Linked DNA regions of Homo sapiens: region 2 is linked to region 1. Evidence: promoter capture Hi-C in 16 types of primary human blood cells and fetal thymus (Javierre and others, 2016). All regions are on one chromosome and are shown on one strand. Each heading gives the region's core, a stretch centred on a gene start or on the middle of the fragment in contact. The rest is flanking DNA. Distances are from core to core; before and after follow the strand shown. Region 1 holds the start of EN2 (engrailed homeobox 2). Region 2 has its middle 19 kb from the start of MNX1-AS1.

Evidence for each region. Contacts are between HindIII fragments. The CHiCAGO score rates a contact against its expected background, and 5 or more counts as called.
Region 2: a fragment that was not itself captured here is called in contact with the fragment with the promoter of EN2 in region 1 in 2 of 17 cell types (total B cells and naive B cells); the score reaches 8.4 in total B cells.

The regions. Positions count from the first base shown.
Region 1 is chr7:155,454,677-155,461,345 of GRCh38, reverse strand. It overlaps EN2 (engrailed homeobox 2), which reads right to left and starts at 3,217. Exons shown (of 2, transcript NM_001427.4): 1 at 2,284-3,217. The coding sequence starts at 2,968. It overlaps EN2-DT (EN2 divergent transcript), which reads left to right and starts at 4,228. Exons shown (of 3, transcript NR_186580.1): 1 at 4,228-4,356. RefSeq lists enhancers at 3,564-4,555, 6,479-6,669. The HindIII fragment of the contact is 14,368 bases long and covers 1-6,357 here.
Region 2 is chr7:157,026,308-157,032,869 of GRCh38, reverse strand. No RefSeq gene overlaps it. Among named protein-coding and RNA genes, the nearest start is that of MNX1-AS1, 19 kb to the right of the region's middle. The HindIII fragment of the contact is 611 bases long and covers 4,396-5,006 here.

The sequences.
Region 1 (6,669 bases), core at 1,968-4,467:
GCTCAACCCCCTGGCGTTCCCTGTGGGGGAAGAAGGGGGCAAGGCCACTGGCAGGGAGTGGTGACCTCGCCTCTGGGTTTCAATTTGTGCGGTGTATGAATCGGCTTTAGGGAGCATCTGGCCCCAGCTTCATCACAGGTCCCTGTGGCTGGAGAAGGCTGGGGGCCCCCCACCCTTCAGGGCCGGAGAGCTGCCGGGCACACTGAGGAGAAGAGGAATGTGGATCTCCTTGGAGGCCCTGGGACTGCACCCTGCCCAGGTCAGGAGAGTCAACTAGGGTGCTGGGGCTGTGCCCAGCAAGAGGTGGGGGACGAACTGGAGGCCCAGGGTGAATGCCAAGCACTCCCTCATGGCCAAGTGAGTCTTGTGCTCTCTCCAGGAGACAGGCCTGGAGAAAGAGGATCTGTGGGCACCACCTCAGGAGCACCAAGGGCAGCTTTTAAAGCAACCCATAGGCAGGCTCACCACCCATGAGAGCACACACCCTATACTTGGGCACCCACCCCATGCACACGTACACACTCAGTGCCTGTCTTGCTCACGCCCAGGGCTCCAGGCCAGTGGGCCTGGCTTTGGTAGGGGTAGGTGCAGATTTGGAGATGGGGTTGGCCCTCCGGAACGGTGGTGGGGGATGGGGCACAAGGCTCCAGGAGAGGCCCCAGCCTCCTGCTCCCAGAGCCCATCTCTGTCTGGGTTTCCAACCACTCCCTTCCCCAGAACTCTACCCCCAAACTCTTCTGGTCCTGGGGCTCTTGTTAATGCACTCATGAAGCAGCCCGCAAAAGGACACCATTTTATGGCAATAAATTTCCCTAAAATAATAATTTTTAGGTTTTTTTCTTGATTTTCTTTCAAAAGACAAATACTTAGGAGTCTCAGAAACAGAATCAAACCTCCCCAAGAAAACTCTCTCTCCCCTTTCTTTCGGAGAAACCAAAGAACAGAAACATTATCTTGCAGGGATATTTTAAAGCCCATGAAGATAGGCGACTTGGGCTGGGCTGAGCTGGGCCGGGCCAGGCCGGGCCGGGCGGTGCTGCCCAGCTCCCGGGCCGTTGGGGGCTGGCTCAGCGAACTCCCGCGCCGCACAAAGCCCGGCCGAGTCTCCTCGCCCGGCATTGTGAGCCTGTATGTTAATTAAATATTAACAAAGGAGGAAGACGAGAACAATGGAGCAAATTTCAGATCTAGCTGAGAAATCTGAATTTCATCAGAAATATGCACGCATAGTTCTGCGGGATGGCGGCCCAAGGGTTGGCTCACTCCTGCTGTGATCTGGGCAAATGACCCCCGCAAAATAGTTGAGGGTTTGGGGGCAGCGGGGATCCGCTGCCAGCTCGGGGTCAAACAGTCCACTTCTAATGGCGGTTCCCAGCCGCAGACCCGCATGGAATGCAGTTGATGATTTCTACAAGGACATGGACTTAGTTTTTTAAAATCGCAGATCTATGAAAAAATATATCCAGCATCTCTGCAGGGCCCCTGCGAATGCTGCCTCTTTCCCATCAGCAGCCCCCAGGAAACCCTGAGAGAAGGTCCTTTCTATTTGGGGATGGCAGGTGCCGGGAGGGACGGCTGCCTCCCTTGTCCTCGCTGTGTGCAGGAAGGGGGCTGAGCCCCACCACTGCGGGCTGGCGCTGGCAAACAAAGTGGAGCCAAGGGGAAAGGGCGCCTTTATTTTCCTCCTTCCCTGTGTGCATCCTCCTGAGTCCCACCGGTCAGCGCAGGCCCGAGGGGCAGAAGGCAGAGCGGCAAAGGGCCTCGCCTTTTCTTCCCCGAGCACAGCCGGGATAACCGGATGGTAGGACAAGTCTGGGGTGGGCTGGGGCATGCGTCCCCGGCCTGGCCTGAGTTGGAAGATCGTAGGGAAGGGGATGAGAGTGTGCACTTCCGGGCCCATCTTCCAGCCACCACGTTCCCACCAAAAAAAACTACAGTGGGGGAGACATGGGCTAGGGGCTGGGAAGAGATGCGCCAAGGCGGGGTGGAAGACAGAGAGGGGAGACAGGGAGAGAGGAAGGAGAGAGAGAGACAGAGAAAGAAAGAAGGTCCCTTCTGCGGTCCTAAGAAGTCTGTACCCCCTAGCGAATCAGTCCTGCCGCTGGACTCCTGGCCGCTGCCCGGGCCGGCGTCAGCTTCACACAATGTCGCGTGAGTCTTTGTGCGTGTGCGCGGGGGAGGTTCGAGATGTTTTCCTCCCGGTAAGTTCCCGCGCCAGCACCGCCCCCCAGCTCCGCGGGCCTCCCCGCGGCGAGCCGGGACGCGTGGTCCCCGCGGGCTCACCTGAAGAAGGCCGGTCCGAGTAGCGCGTACAGTAGACCCACGCCGGCCAGAGCATGGGCTGCGCGCCCAGGTTGGCGCCGGCTTGCGAGCTGTCCGAGTCCGAGCTCACCGACAGGTCGCCGCCGCCCAAGCCGCGGGCCTTGAGCGACCCGTCCAGGGGGCCGCCGGGGTCGCCGCCTTTCTTGGCGCCACCGTGCAGCGAGAGCGTCTTGGAGCCGCCTTCCCCGTCACCCGGAGAGTCGCTGCCGGCGGCTGGGAGCGGCCCGCCCGCGCCGGGCGCACATGGCGGGTTCTGCCGGGGCTCTCGGGAGCCCGAGCCCAAGAGCTGCTCCGAGCCGCCCGCGCCGCCGCCTCCCTCCGCACCGCTCGCGCCGCCTTCGCCGCCGGCTCCGCCGCCCCTTCCTCCTCCCGCGCCCGCACAGCAGGTCCCCGCGTCCTTTCGCCGGCCGAACTCGGGCCGCAGGATGTTGTCGATGAAGAAGTTGGTGATGCGGTGCGGGTGCTGGTGGTTGCCGGGCGCCTGCAGGACCGCGGGCAGCATCAGAGCCCGCCGGCGCCCGGTGTCCGCTTCGCCCGGGCTGCTACCGCCGCCGCCGCCCGAGCCGCCGCCGGGGCTGGATTCCGGCTGCCGCTGTCCCTCCACCGCCGCCGCTGCTTCGCCAGGCTTGGGGTCATTCTCCTCCATGCTGTTCACAGTAAATCCCACACTGGTTCTCCGGGGACGCCCTTCCAAATCAGCCTTCGGCCCTCCCGCGGCGCACACGGAGACCCCCGCGCCCCCACCCCGCCGAGTCTTCCGAGGGCGTGCGCGGCGGCCGCGGCCAGGGCTGAGGTCCTACAAGTCGCCGGCCGCGCTCGGCGCGGAGCCACCTTTGAATCCACGAACTGGGTTAGAAACACCACGAGCCGCCCCGCTCGCCCAGACGATGAGAGATTCAACAGAGCCAAGTCCTCGACTTCGCCGCGCAGCCGGGGTCTAGACAGTCGCAGTGGTCCGGCGGGGACGCGGGCCGCCTCCCGGGCTCCCCGCTCCTCTCCGCGTCCGGCCGCCTCGGGCTCCGGCGCCGCCGCCTGGGCCGCCCGGGGCGAGAGCTGCGCGCATGCAGGCAGCGCGTTCCCCGGCGCTCACGCCCGCCCGGGCCGGCTCCGGCCGCCGCCGCCGCCCGGCCGTCCCCGCCCGCACGCCCTAGCCGGCCCTCGAGGGTGCCGGGCGCCCGCGGTCAGCGCGCCCGCCACCGCCCGCACGCACATGGAGGCCCCCTCCTCGCGGCCGCCGCCCCGCTGCGGGCCGGGGCGCCCCACCGGCGTGCGGCCGCGCCCCCGCCGAGCCCCGCAGAGCTCCGCGGCCCGAGTCGCATGGGTGAGAGACGCGAGGCCAGGGCCCGGCCGGGCCGGGCTGGGCCGCCCGCGCTCCCCGGCCGTCCGCCGCCCTCGCCGCCTCGGCCTCCGCGCGGGCTCGGAAATTTCCAGGCCACTCGGCGCAACCTGAGACACTTTCACTCTGGATTTTTGTTCTTATTTTTAACAGAGCCCCCTCGAGTGACGTCGCAGGCCGGTCTCCTGGACACGTGCCTCGGGCCAATGGCCGCGGCGCCGCGCGCCCACGTGACGCTCCGGCCGCCGCTGGGTGACAGGAGCAGCCCGCCGCCCCTCCTCCCCTTAAAGCGGCCGCGTCCCCCGCTCCGGGTGCGGGAGCCCAGGAACCCGGAGAGACCCCCGACCGCGTCTCCTGCGCTCGCCCGCGCTTTCCCTGTCGCTTCGCGGTTCAGGGGTGTGAGTCACCCGGCGACAGCCCCGCCAGGTCACCCCGGGGCGCGTAGGTGGACACGCACAGGAAGATCGCTATTTTTAAGATTTCCATATTGTTTACCGTGGGGCGAAATCCCACAATTCCTTGCACAAAATGCATAAATAATATTAAATGAGCTGCCGAGATACAAAGGGACTTTTGTGGTCCGCTTTCCTTGCTGATGGAGAGGAATAGTGTCACTCCCATTTGACTCGGTAACCCGGCAGCTTCCTGTCTTAAACGCAGAGCTGGCGCGCAGGACACTCCTCCTGCAGACACTTATTGTAAGTGTGCGTGTGTGTGCGTGTGCAGGGAGGCGCGTGCATACGGCCGCATTCCACCCGGGGACAGCGACCCTCATGAAACATGCTTAGCGATCCGAAAGAGCGGGGGAATGCAGTATGCGGCTCCATTTGCGAAGGGAGAAATCCAGGAGCCTCGGAGGTTCTAAAGGAATCCTTTTTGCCAAGGAGAGGAGGGGTGACTGTTCAGCTAAGACTTCAAAACCAAGTCGCCCGCCCCCCTCTAACTTCTCTACTCTGATTGAGGAGCTCCCAGACCGGTCATCTCGTTTTCTTTGTTTTAAAATCCTTTAAACTAATTTTGCCGGAGAGCAGGGCCCATTTGAAACGAGAATTAGGAATCCAACGGCAAGGGTGGGAGCCCCAGTTGGTTTCTCCCCTCCTCTCTCTTCATCTTTTCTAGACTTTCCTTCCAGCTGTTGTCAGAATGTCCAACTGGAAGTTCTGTTTCCTCTTCTCTTCCCCCTCCTCCCTCGGGCTCCTTCCCATTTGCTCTTGTCTACCCACCAAACACCCGTTGTTACCCCAGGCTCGCCTGTCCATCATTTAAAATGCATTTTTATGGAAATGTGTGAATTCCTGGAAACATCCGATAGGGCAGCTCTGGGGGTGCGGGAGCATTTGCACGCCATGAGTACCCTCAGTGCGGGGGAGGCGGGGAGGCCGCAGCCTGGCACGGACACCCTAGGGCTGATTGGCCCTGGGCAGCTGCACCGTGCTCAGCAACCCAGACCCCCGCAGAGGCAGCCAGCAGGTTGCTGCCAGGCCCTGAGTGAACTTGGGGAGTCTGGCAAGCATCTCCGAGGCAGCGTGGCCTGCCAGGCCACCTGGGGCCTGAAGGTTGCACCCTGGCCTTGCGAAGCTCCTTCCCCAGTGTCCATCCCACGTGCTGTCCTTCCCCTGCAGGCTTCAGAGTGCTGGCTGGGCTGGGATGAGAAACGACAGTTCCCACAGCTGCTCCCAGGAAAATTACCCCCCCACCCAGGACGGGAATGGTGGGGGAGGAGGTGCTGGGCTGGCCTCCTGGCCACTGGACGTGGCTCTGGTCAGAGTGTGCCCTCTGTCCGGTGTGTCTAGGGCAGGGTGGGGAAGCCTCTTCTCGCTGGGGCTGGATTCCTCCACTTTTTCTTCATTGGAGGAGTCCTTACCAAATGTTCTGGCTAGGCACACATCTGCCAGGGGTCCTCCCCGAGTCTCAAAAAATCAAACCCCACAGTCTACCTGCCCCCCGGGAAAATAGGGCTGGTGAGAGTTTGTGGGAAGTCTTATTGACGCTTACTTGGTTTTTTGGGGGGAGAATTTTCTGCAACTCTGGAAACTCTGATGATCACCAGTCAGGAAAGGGAGGGTCCAACGACTCTGGGTCTCCTGAACATGATATTGGGGGGAGGAGGGGCCCTGAGCTCTTTGGTTCCTGCAAAACCATCCCAGGTTAATGGCTCCACCTGTCCCATGAAAGCCAATTAGGCGGCTTCCTGAGAAGTATTTTCTGAATTCTTGGGACTCTTTGCCTCTGACTGCCTCAGTATAAATGGCCCCAAGACGCTGGGCTTCAGCCCTGTGCTTTCCTGCGACCCAGACCCCAATTCGTGGCTGCAACAGAGACTCTGGGAAGCAGAGCGTCACCTCCAGGGCGCCTGGCGGGCCGGTGGGCAGAGACCTGCCCTCGCAGGGTCTGCGGGCTGGGCCCTGGGGTTGGCTGGAGGAAGAGGAATTCGTGGGTCGCTCTCCTGGAAAGGAGGAAGGTGAGAGGTGGAGGGAGGAATAGGAGAAAGAGAAATAAATGAAGAGAGAGATAACTAGAGGGTACCGGGCCCCCCAGAGTGGACCCAAACACGAAACAACTCTGGGAAAGCGGTAAGAGGGGTCACCGTTCAAAGGGCCGGGGAAGCTGGGATGGGGCTGCAGAAAGTTGAGCTGCCCAGGGGCTGGGCGGTGCTGAGTTCTATACACACGGAACTCCGCAAGGTGTTTCAGGAAGCTTCGAGAAGCGCGCATGAGGACCGGCCTCGGCCGCCTGCCCCAGCTGGGACGGCGCCTCGCGCTTTCTGGGGATGCGGGGCAGTGGCGTGTCTCTCCTCTGCGATGCCAGCCCCGGCTGCCGCGCTCCCGCGAGCCCAGAGCCTCCGCTTTCTCCCCCGAACGACCGCCGCCCTCAAGGTCGGCCTTTCTGTGCGGATCAGACGAGCCCTCTCCGGACATTAGTTTCTCCCGGGATGGAAAGTGGGGCACTGACCCGGGAACCCCGTTTTCCCTCTAGCTTCACCCAGGAATCGGAGAGCGCCCGCGACCACC
Region 2 (6,562 bases), core at 3,452-5,951, 1.6 Mb before region 1:
GGCAGCCAAAAGCCAAGGAACACGTGGCTAGACCTCCAGAGAGCAGAGCCCTGCAGACCGCCCCGCCCAGGCACCTGTGCCTCCCAAGCCCCGCCTGAGCCCCAGGTGATTCTCACTTCACCCTGAGCAGCCCTGAAAGAAACCAGCAAGTCAGGCGCAGACTGCGTGTGATCACTTTACCAGGCGGGTGATTTTTTAAATTAATTAATTAATGTATTTATTTATTTATTTAGAGATGGAGTCTCACTGTCACCCAGGTTGGAATGCAATGGTGCGATCTCGGCTCACTGCAACCTCTGCCTCCTGGGTTCAAGCAATTCTCCTGCCTCAGCCTCCTGAATAGTTGGGACTACAGGCACACACCACCACACCCTGGTAATTTTTTTGTATTTTTAGTAGAGACAGGGTTTCACCATATTGACCAGGCTGGTCTCAAACTCCTGACCTCAAGTGATCTGCTGCCTTGGCCTCCCAGAGTGCTGGATTACAGGCATGAGTCACCGCGTCCAGCCAGGCAGGTGATTTTAGACAGGTCATCTCATTTCTCTGAGCCTCAGTCTCTTGATCTGTAAAATGGGGCAACTATAGAATCAACTCATGGAAATATGAGGAGTAGATGAGGCAATGTGCTTTGACCAATGTGCTTTGACCACAGTCTGGCGTGGAGTTAAGACAAATAGCTTTAGCTTCTGGTTTCCAATTTCAGTTTTTAGGCACACATACCCGTACAGATTCCCACCACCACCATCAGCTACAATAAATTCATAGAAAATAGAACATATCCTGCCAGGAGAGCGAGGTGAGCCAGCGAGTGTACATTCTCATGATGTGCTGGGTGTTCCGATGTATTTTCAATGTTCCCAGCATCCCCGTTAGGACTGACACATATCATCTCCATTTACAGATAAGATAAGGAAACTGATGCTAAGAAGGATTGGCGAGCTTGTCCGAGGTCCCATCACAACCTGCAGTGACAGCCACTGGGACCTAGACCTGCCTGGCTTCAAAGCCAGGCTCCCTCTCCCAAGCTGCACTTCTCCCCACAGCAATGACACAACGCCCAGGCTGTATAGGAAACACAGACATGCGTGTTCTCACCTTCTTCGCACACATCACTAACTTCTAAGATCCTGTTCTGAGACTCTTTAACACAGATTTGGTCATTTATATTTCTATTTTGCAACGGAGTCCTAAAATTTTAAAAGCCACATTTTGGCCAGGCACAGTGGCTCATGCCTGCAATCCCAGCACTTTGGGAGGTGGAGGTGGGAGAATCGCTTGAGCCCAGGAGGTCAAGACTGCAGTGAGCCGTGATCGCACCACTGCACTCCAGCCTGGGTGACAGAATGAGGCTCTGTCTCAAAAATAAATGATTTATTAATGTAATTTAATAAAAAAGAAAAAGTCATATTTTTTGGAAAATTATATATTTTTATTCACAACTATAAGATAAGGATATTGCAGCATTATTTTACATTTGTTTTTCTTTAATATTTTCAGAGACTACACTTAAATGTGTTTTAATATAAAAACCAACATTGCATTAATAAAGGGCAGATAGCACTTTTGGAGGCTGAGGTGGGTGGATCATGAGGTCAGGAGATAGAGACTATCCTGGCTAACATGGTGAAACACCGTCTCTACTAAAAATACAAAAATTAGCCGAGCATGGTGGTGGGCACCTATAGTCCCAGCTACTCAGGAGGCTGAGGCAGGGGAATCGCTTGAACCCAGGAGGCGGAGGTTGCAGTGAGCCAAGATCGTGCCACTGCACTCCAACCTGGGTGACAGAGCAAGACTTTTTCTCAAAAAATAAAAAATAAACGGCAGATAGGTGCTCAATTGTGGATCGCTCGATGCAGTCTTTTAAAACCTCTTTAGGGCCGGGCATGGTGGCTCACGCCTGTAATCCCAGCACTTCGGGAGGCTGAGGCGGGTGGATCATGAGGTCAGGAGATTGAGACCATCCTGGCTAACACAGTGAAACCCCGTCTCTACTAAAAATACAAAAAATTAGCTGGGCACGGTGGCTGGCACCTGTAGTCCCAGCTACTCGGGAGGTTGAGGCAGGAGAATGGTGTGAACCTGGGAGGTGGAGCTTGCAGTGAGCTGAGATTGTGCCACTGCACTCCAGCCTGGGCAACAGAGCGAGACTCCATCTCAGAAAAAAAAAAAAAAAAAAAAACCTCTTTAGGTGGCAAGACAGATATTATTAACTCTGTGTATCATTAAAAGGCTCATGTTTGAATCAAATGGTTCTTATTAATTTATTAAATGAAATTCGCCATCATTACAGTCCCTTTCAAAAGAATAATTGTATTATCAATATATTTCCCATCAAATATTCCTAGGAGCTTACAACTACCTATAGCTCTATATTCATGGTCTGAATGAGGTCCTATGTGTTAAACATTTTATCTTCTGCATCTGATGCCCTTTATCATCTAAAAATGTTTTATAATAGTTTGGGGAAGGCAAACTCTCTTTTTTTTCTTTCTTTTTTTTTTTTTTTTTGAGACAGAGTCTCACTCTGTCGCCCAGGCTGGAGTGCAGTGGCGCAATCTCGGCTCACTGCAAGCACCGCCTCCCGGGTTCACGCCATTCTCCTGCCTCAGCCTCCTGAGTAGCTGGGACTACAGGCGCCCGCCACCACGCCCGGCTAATTTTTTGTATTTTTAGTAGAGACGGGGTTTCACCATGTTAGCCAGGATGGTCTCGATCTCCTGACCTTGTGATCCGCCTGCCTCGGCCTCCCAAAGTGCTGGGATTACAGGTGTGAGCCACCGTGCCCAGCCAACTCTCTCTCTTAAGCTATAGGCCATCAATTAAAAGGAGCGCTGTTTTGATGTATGTAAGTTGTGCCATGATTCCTCTGCATATTTTCTGTCTGTGGAGGAGCCCAGCAAGCATTTCCCCTTAGGTGATCTAAGTATGAAAGATTCACTAACAAACAATAAGTGTAGAGTGGTGATCACTCAGAATGATGGAAAGGTGACAGTGATGCTGATGACGAGAGTATGTTAATAAAAGGTTTCCTAAATTGCTCCTTAACTAAATCAATAAATCCCAACCTAGGGTGTCCAGGTCTCTAGGCACCTAGGAAGGTAGCCATGGGGAAGGGGAGGGCAGTGTCTTCCAGGTAATTCCCATATGTTATTTATAAAAGCTTAATTGAAATCCTGCGCTCTCTCTTCAAGAGGTGGCCTTAGCTAGTCTTCGGAATCTCTGGTTGGAAATGGAGTTAGCTTGCCTCAGTGCAGGATGTGTGTTCTCCCTCTCATGTGGACAAGATGCTCAATATAGATTTAATTAATTGTTTTAAAGCAATGCATTATTTTAAATACAGCTTGGTATGCAAGTATAAGGTTATTAGGGGAAAAAAAGGGGGTCTTTCATGGTGCAAAGTTTAAGCAGCAACCAAATGAATTCTAGAAAGATCATATACAGACAAATTAAGAAACAATTATGGCCAGGTGTGGTGGTTCATGCCTGTAATCCCAGCACTTTAGGAGGTAGAGGCGAGAGGATCATTTGAGCTCAGGAGTTTGAGACAAGCCTGGACAACATAGCAAGATCTCATCTCTATTTAAAAAAAAAACGATTTATAATGAACATCAAAACACATAGGTTACAAATTCTCATTACTAAGTATCTGGCTAAGAAACCAGAGGGGAAAAAACCCACGAATTTGAAAAGACCAAATAAAATGAACTAGTAATGAGTTAATTTTAATAGTTTATATTAAATATTAATAGCTTAGCAAATCACCACTCACCATTTAGAAAACGCTGGCCTACACCCTGTAGACTATTCTAGAACAAGAATGTTATTCTATGCTATTGAAAAAGAATAGGTCCTAGTTATTTGAGAACCAATATAATGTTCACCCCCAACCTCCAAGGACACTTCACTGTCTTTTCCCTTCCCTGTCCTCTTAAAAATAAAGGGCAGCATTGATATACTGACTTTACCTATGTACATCAAAAGCCCTGAAAACCATGCAACGTCCACAAACACATCAAAAATGAGGCAAGCATTTCTGTGATTAAGGGAGAAATGTCACTCTAGGAATGTCTTGTGCTGTTTCACCGATGAAGGGGACAGGGTCGTGGAAGGTGGGGACTCAGCCCAGGCGCAGGGGAAGTCCTCCCACTGTGGCCTTCCCGTAGGCTGAGCCTGCCGGCCTCGTCTGCAGCAACCAGAAGACCAGTGAGAACACGGTCCATAAAGAGCTACTGGCTTGTTCAACGACTCACGAGGTTTTTATGGAATGCTTACATTTTGAATTTTAGAAGCTAAAGACAAAAACCCAAAAAGCAGTCAGCCAGCGATTTTTGCAGGACATCTGTTTTCTTTGGCTCTCGTGAGAACACCCAACTGTAGGATTTTGAAGCTTGGTGGCTTTAGGTGAAATGCAAGGTCGTGCCAGGTTGATTTAGTGCATTATTAGCTGTTTATACAGTACTGAAGCAGCACATGACGTATGAAAAATGACTTTCCGATCTCAGGGAATAAATCAGGACTAGCAAGTGATTCCACTTAATACTTAACTTTAGCGAGTAAAATATTACACCTGTTATTATTCAGGGCAAACACAGCCCCTTCCATTTGTTTATTGAGGAAACAATTTATTTGAGGACATTTAATTGCAATAGTGAAACCTGACTTGGGGGGTTAATCCCAGTTTATCGATGCAATTAAAAGCAGTGTGTGCTGTGTCTCGTATTTATTATCTAGGGGTAGAATGTTGACACAACCCCGGTGTCGAGATGGGTGTGCTTGAGAGTATCTGCGCTGTGCGAGGTGTAAGGTGGATGTTGCGTCATGTGTACAGCAAACACAACTCTATTCTGTGTCAGCGTTTGCATAACCTAATTGGGGAAAGGCTTCTAATTTGATTTTACTTGGAGCAATATAGGTTCAAATTGTTATATAGATCCAGCATTGTTTGGTTTCTTGTCAATGATTCATGGTATTTTAATGCCCAGCAGGCAAATACTAAAGCTTCTCATCACACATTTGGCAGTATTCCACAATTCCCTTGGCCTGAATTCCGCCCCCTTTTTTCTTTCCCCACCACTAGATCCCCATCCTCCCATATCTCAGATGTTGCTGCCTCTGGTCTAAGTCAGTTCCTGGTGTCTGCTCCCTCACAGCTTGTTGAGGCCTGTGTCCCTTGCACACACCCAGGTCGGACGTTCTGACTGGGGAGTGTGAAGGCTGTGTCACTTCCCCTCTGTCCCTTCCTGGGATCCATCATGAAAGGCAGCCAGAGAAGGCAATTTCAAAGATTTTAAAAACTTCTCTATTGGCCAGGCGCGGTAGCCCCGCCTGTAATCCCAGCACTTTGGGAGGCCAGATCACGAGGTCAGGAGTTCGAGACCAGCCTGGCCAACATAGTGAAAGCCTGTCTCTACCAAAAATACAAAAATTAGTCAGGTGTAGTGGCACGTGCCTATAGTCCCAGCTACTTGGGAGGCTGAGGCGAGAGAATCACTTGAACCCGGGAGGCGGAGGTTGCAGTGAGCCAAGACCACGCCATTGTACTCTAGCCTGGGGGTGACAGAGTGAGACTCCATCTCAAAAAAAAAAAAAAAAAAAAAAACCTCCCTTTTAGGGACCACTTCCCAACTCATTTTACAAGTCTACTATTTTGCTGACATCAAAGCCAGATAACGACACAGCCAGAAGAGAAAATGACAGACCAATATCCCTGATAAACATGGATGGAAAAATCCGCAACAAAACACCAGCAAACTGAATTCAACAGCACTTTAAAAGGATCATTCCCTGTGATCAAGTGGGATTTATCTCTGGATGCAACGATGGTTCAATATTACAAATCAATAAGTACAATATACCACATTAACAGAATGAAGGACAAAAACCATATGATCATCTCATTCGATGAATAAAAAGTGTTTAACAAAACTCAACATCCTCTCATGATAAAAAAAAATTCAACAAATTATGTATAAGGTAGAAGGAACGTGCGTGCCTCAATATAGTAAGGACCATATATGAAAAGCTCACCGCTAGCATCATACTCAATGGTGAAAAGCTGAAAGCTTTTCCTCTAAGATCAGGAACAAGACAAGGATACCCACTGTCACTGCTTCTATTCAACATTGTCCTGGAAGTCCTAGCCTAGCCAGGGCAATTAGGCAAAAGAAAGAAATAAAGAGCATCAAATAGGAAAGGAGGCAGTAAAATTGTCTCTGTTTGCAGATGACATGATCTTATGCACAGAAAACCCTGAAGACTCCACAAAAAACTGTTAGAACTGATCAACAAATTCAGTAAAGTTGACGGATACAAAATCAACAAACATAAATCAGTAGCCTTTCTATACACTACGAACTGTCTGAAAAGGAAATTAAGAAAATGATCCCATTTACAATAGCATCAAAAAGAATAAAATACTTCCATGTAAATTTAACCAAGGAGGCGAAAGATCTGTGTAATAAAACCTATAAGACACTGAAGAAAGAAATCAAAGAAGGCTACAAATAAGTGGAAAGGCATCCCCTGTTCGTGAATCAGAAGACTTAATATTGTTAAA